Linked DNA regions of Homo sapiens: region 1 is linked to region 2. Evidence: promoter capture Hi-C in human tissues and cell types (Jung and others, 2019). All regions are on one chromosome and are shown on one strand. The core of a region is centred on a gene start or on the middle of the fragment in contact, and the rest is flanking DNA. Distances in the headings are between cores, read along the strand shown.

Region 1 (2,759 bases), core at 110-2,609, 38 kb after region 2:
CCATGGTTATTCCCACTGCGGTTGCCATCGGTTTTGCAAGGGCTAGCCCCCCTCTTCTTTCAAATCAGGAAACTAGTGCAGGCAGGGGACCTGGTTTGTCCCAGGTCACGCTGGGGGCCAGCCCTCCTTCCCTCCACACCCGCCGGAGTATGCCGGGGCAGGCCTCCTGCCACTCACCTGGTCGGCACCGAAGGAGGTGAGGTTGCTCCGGACGGAGCTGGCGGCCAGGCCGAGTAGCAGCAGGCCCGCGTAGAGGACGGGCGCGCAGTAGGGGCTGGGCGAGGAGCGCGGGCAGCCGGCCGAGGGGCAGGCAGGTCCCAGCGGCGACGCGGGCATCTCTCCGCAGAAGGAGCTGCGGCCGTCGGGGAAGGCGGTGGCGGGCAGCAGGCCCGAGGCGGCCAGGTAGAGCAGCAGGCTGAGCGCGACCGCGCGGTAGCGGCCCAGGTACACGTCGGCCAGCCAGCCGCCCACGGGCGCCAGCAGGTAGGAGGCGCCCAGGAATACCAGCGCGGCGCGCGTCGCCTGCTCGCCGGTCCAGTTGAAGTTGGTGCTGTTGAGGTACAGCACGAGGTTGGCGGTGACGCCGAAGAAGGCGGCGCGCTCCAGCATCTCCACCAGCAGCACGGCCGCGCCCGCCGCCCGCCGCCACCGTCGAGGGCCCCGCGCACCGCGAGGCAGCAGCGGCTGGCGCTCCCCGGGCACGCGGGGCTGCTCCCGGGCGCGCGGCGCGGGCATCCTGGCTCCGGGCTGGGCCCCCCGCGGCTCTTCTCTCCTCTCCTCTCCCCGCCTCAGAGCCCTGCACTCCTGCCCCCGGGCCTCGGCCCTCTCCCCCACCCAACTGGCTGGCCCTCCTTTCTCACCGCTTTGGCCCACCCTTCCCTCCTGTCCCCTCTCCCTTTCTTGCCCTACCCTTCCTGTCCCTCCGCTCACTACCCGGACTCTACCACCTCCTCCCTAATTCTCAACTCCCCTCTCCCTTCCCCCACCCCTAAGGCTTCCTCCCCGCGCCTCTCCTGCAGCTGTTTCTCCCTAACTCTCCCCTCTCCTCCCTCCACCTTGACCCTTCCTCGCACTCTTGTTCACACTGCGACCCTCCCTGCTTCACTTCGCTGCCCCTCCGCCTCCCTTTCCCCTCCCCGTTTGTCGCCCCTTCCTGTTGTCCCCTCTCCTTATGACTCCTGGCCTGCCCTGGGCGTGGGGTGGGGGCTCCCTCTGCCCCAGTCACCCTGCTGCCCCTTGCCGTCTTCTCCACCTCCTCCCTGTCCCCCTCACCCCCACTGCCTACACTCCCCTCTCAGTCCCCTGCAGCCCTCCCCCCAGGCTCAGCCTCTGTCCCTCTCTCGGCTTCTTGAGAAACTCTGGGCTCCCCTCGCTTCCCCTTTCACAGGCCCTATCCGCAGTCCCCTGCCTGCATCACATGGCGCTACTGGGTGTTTAGGAGAAGTGAAAGCCTGGGTCACAGGGCTCCTGCCCGGTCAGCTTTCTAAAAACCTCCCTCCTTCTCTACCTCTGCCTCCTACCCCAAACCCCCGCTGCTGGCCTCCTTAGAGCCAAAAAATTCCAGGAGGAATTTTTTCTTTCAGTTTCATTTCTCGCCAGGATTCCACTTTTGCTTTACCCTCTTCCAATCAAACTCCACGCCTCCACCCGAGGCGCCACGGGTAGAAAGAAGTGGAAAGGCTACCTGCATCATTTGGTCACACTCAGCCATTTCACAGATGCAGAGACAGACCCAGTGGGGCTAGGGCAGGAAGGTGGAGAAAGATTGGTTCCTGGTAACTGAACTAGGGGTGAAGCCCTGCCCCGGGCTCCTGAGTGGCAGGGAAATTCACAGCGCAATTCGGATTGCACAGAGGCTGCTGTGAGGAAGGAAGTGGGGCACTTTCAACAAGCCTGCGGGCCATAGAGGACCACAAGTGAGTCGGGATTGAGAGGGACACCGACCTCAGACTAAATCAGAGTCAGCCTCAGAACTCCTAAGCACCAGCCCCACCCTGACCTAGGAGCCCGGGGGATCTGGCCTCTGCTCTCCTCTGATCTCATCTCAGCCCCATGTTCACTCAAGTCCAGCCAGCCGGCCTCCCAGGTTCCCCTTCCATGCTAAGCTCCTCCCTGCCTCAGGGCCTTTGTCTTTGCTGACCCCTCTGCCATAACTGCTCTCCCTCCATATCCTTGCATGGCTGGCTGCTTCTCTTTATTGAGGTTTCAGCATATATGTCTCCTTTGTAGGGACCTTCCCTGATTTTCCCATCTAAGTAGTTTCCTACTGGATTCTCAGCATCCCCCATCACATTGTCTTGTTTTAATGTCTTCAGAGCACATATTACTTGTTCAGTTAGCACCAGTAGAATAGGCCCTCCATCAGATCAGAGACCTTTTCTAACTCTTCACTGTTTTATTCTCAATGGCTTCCCAGTGCTTGGCAAATAGTAGGTGCTCAATAAGTATTGCCTGAATCAATGAATGGAAAGAGTGTCCCAAGGCAAAATTTGTAAGAATAATAATATCAGGAAAGCTAAAGCTAAATAAACTGAGTCTCACAAAAGCTATAGATACCAGCAAAAAAAGCACTATAGATACCAGCAAAAAAGCGAGGGATTTTTTGTTGTTGTTGTTTGTTTGTATGTTTGTTTTGAGACGAAGTCTCACTCTGTCGCCCAGGCTGCCATGCAGTGGCACAATCTCGGCTCACTGCAACCTCCACTTCCTGAGTTCAAGCAATTCTCCTGCCTCAGCCTTCTGAGTAGCTGGGATTACAA
Region 2 (2,700 bases), core at 64-2,563:
CCCCTCATAGGAGGGAGCGTGCAGGTGAGTGGGTGCAGGAGCCAGAGCGTGCGCTTTTGGACACCGGCAGGAGCGAACTCCGTGCAGGCCCCGGGGCAGTGTCCAGGCAGAGTGCCTGAGGCTCCTGAAGCCCCAGAGGGCATGTTACAGTGTTCTTTTGGCTCTGTCGTCCGTGGACAGCTTAAGTGTTAACAGCTCCGTGGGCCCGCGGTTGCCCTCCACCAGCAAGGGCAGAGGGCCAGCGTGACAGCTTTTGTATCCGCACTCGTGGCTCCCGAGCTCTTGTCCAGCGTCCAAGAAAAATAAAGCTGCACGAACAAATTAAAGGACAAATGCCTGGGATTTTATTGCTGATCAAAGTGGATTTCAGAGGGAAGGTGAGCTGAAAAGAGGGGGGTGGGACAGGCCGGTATGTAGTCTTCCCTTGAAGTCCAGCTATCTCCAGCCAGATTCGTCTCAGAAGTTACGCCTTAAGCTGTCCCTCTGAAGACAAGCTGCTTCTCTCTGACATCCAGCCATGGTCGTCCCCTCATCCAGCTGCTTCTCCTCTCTGCCAGATGAGTCTGGGGTCTTTCTAGGCACAGGATGAGGCAGGGCAGAGCCATGGGTGGCTTAGGAAAAGGCAACATTCAACTGGAAAAACATGGATAGAAGTTCTCACTTTGGGCCATGGTTTCAGGCTTTTTGGCTTGAGGGTGGGGTTTCACCAGGGACCCGCTCTTTTCTACCTAGCATTTATCTGCCTCCTGTCCCTATGCACTGCCTTTGTGGCAGAAAAAGGAGAGTGAGAGTTGGTTCCTCTCTTTCTCTGAAATTCTGAGCTAACATTTGGGAGCCGTCTACAGTATTCAGGTATGAATTTTCTCTCTGGGGGAGCGCATTCGTTTTCCTAGAGCAGTGTGCTTTTAATTGCTCCTTTAATATCTTTCTCTTTTGTGCCTTTTTAGCGCGAAAAGTGTATGGGAAGACTAGGTGCTCGTTAGCGGCTCGGTTAGAACTACATTGCCCACAATGCCCCAGGGAACATTTGTAGCTCTAGAACTACATGACCCAAAATGCCGAGTGGTGGCAAGAGGAGGATTAGCTTCCACTCCGATTTCAAAGATCCAGTTTACCCACTCTACAGCCCAGATATAGTCACTTATTTCCCCTTTCCAGCCAGAGACTTCCGTTCCCTGCTGGAACTTCCGATCCCATTCTTCTCTCGGTGGGAATGCTTGTGGGGGGAAAAAGAAACGCAATAGATAAAGCGGGGCGCATGCGCTCCCGGCACAGGCTTCGATTGTGAGGAAGGCCGGCTAGTCTCCGAGCTCATCCCGCCTTGCGCATGCGGAGAAGGTAAACCAGCGCCCCGAGTTGAGGCGCGGGTTTGGTGGCGCGTTTCAGCGAAGTCGCACGTGAAGGATAGCAGTGGCCTGAGAAAGGTGAGAGCGGGCCGAGGTCGGAATGTGGGGCAGCGCACGGGAAGGGGAGACAGCAGCCGCTGCAGGCGGCACCAGGCGGAGCCGCGAGGCCTGGAGAGTCCGAGTGGGGAGGGGTCCGCGCGCCCAGCGTGCGAAACAAACCGGGGACCCGGATCCCCGTTGCTATGCAACCGGGGGCGTCGTTTCCAGGCAACCCGGGAGGCGCACGTTTCCGGGGAGAAGAGGGTTGCGGCGAGGTTCCGAGGTCCGGCAGAGGTGGAGCGGCTCCCGGGCGTGGGGACCAGGCCAGCGCCAAGCCCGAGCCCCCGAACCCCGACCCACGGCCCAGCCTCCTGCAGCCTCGGCTCGAGCCCTTCGGGGGGCCCCAAACTCATGGGTCGCGCCACGTTCCTTGCCAGCGACGCTACCCCTCAGCGCTTGGCAGGGGACGCGCCGTTCGAAATAGCACATGCCACTGACACCCTGTCTCCGGGAGGCTGCGCCCCGGTTAGGGCGCGGAGCGGCAGGGAAGCTGCCCCTTTGCCGTCGCCCTGCCCCCAAACAGTTGCTGGGCAGCAGCTGTCAGGGGTTTAGTGGGAGCTGCCCCCAACCTGCCAGGGCGCTGACTTCATTCTCTGCAGTGGCGGCTTCGCCTTGTTTAGGACCTTCCTTTAGACTCAGCTGTGCTTCTCGTGTGGCTGCTGTATATTTGGATCTACTATTAAAATAACCTCCCTCCTCACCTCTCCATGGCTTTCTCGTTCGACCCTCACGGTTTCTTGGCAGGTTGCTAATATTCATTTAATAAACATTTATTAGTCATCTTTCCTACTAGGCGCTGGGGATTCCAACATGTCAAGTCTAACCGGGAGTCGCTCGGTCTACTGGGGAAGGCAGGTTGATAAACTGCTAAATTATGCTACGATATATAGTCAGTGGTAATGTGTGTGCTGCAACATTTCTATAGATGTTTAGTTTACAAAGCGCTTGCTGCAGAAATATCTTAACTCCTTACAGCAACTCTTCACCTGGGTTCACTCCCTTTTACGTTTGAGGAGACTGCAACTCAGGCAGGTTAAGTAACAGGCGTAAGGTAGTAGCTTCTAGTCCGTGGCACACTTGAGCCTGGGACGGAAGTCAGGGGTCCTTTGTACACTGCTGCACTTTTGAAGCTTTGCTTAGACTTTTCCCTGAGCTGCTGGCTATGCATCCGAAATTCCTGAGGAGCTTTGCAAAACAAAGGGCTGAGTCCCTCTCTGGAAGAGTCTGAGTGAGTAGCCCTGGGTGGGGCAGACGT

The links. Contacts are between HindIII fragments. The study calls those that stand out against the background at their distance.
Region 1: a contact is called between the fragment with the promoter of SLC15A3 here and the fragment with the promoter of TMEM109 in region 2, in 2 of the 25 tissues and cell types used here (IMR-90 fibroblasts and adrenal gland).

The regions. Positions count from the first base shown.
Region 1 is chr11:60,950,817-60,953,575 of GRCh38, forward strand. SLC15A3 (solute carrier family 15 member 3) reads right to left here and starts at 1,360. Exons shown (of 8, transcript NM_016582.3): 1 at 178-1,360. The coding sequence starts at 735. RefSeq lists silencers at 643-802, 1,123-1,352 and an enhancer at 1,533-1,672. The HindIII fragment of the contact is 25,133 bases long and covers 1-2,759 here.
Region 2 is chr11:60,912,845-60,915,544 of GRCh38, forward strand. It overlaps TMEM109 (transmembrane protein 109), which reads left to right and starts at 1,314. Exons shown (of 4, transcript NM_024092.3): 1 at 1,314-1,424. It overlaps TMEM109-DT (TMEM109 divergent transcript), which reads right to left and starts at 1,219. Exons shown (of 2, transcript NR_186356.1): 1 at 1,116-1,219; 2 at 322-633. RefSeq lists enhancers at 1-551, 1,550-2,548, 1,943-2,112 and a silencer at 1,603-1,762. The HindIII fragment of the contact is 7,495 bases long and covers 1-2,700 here.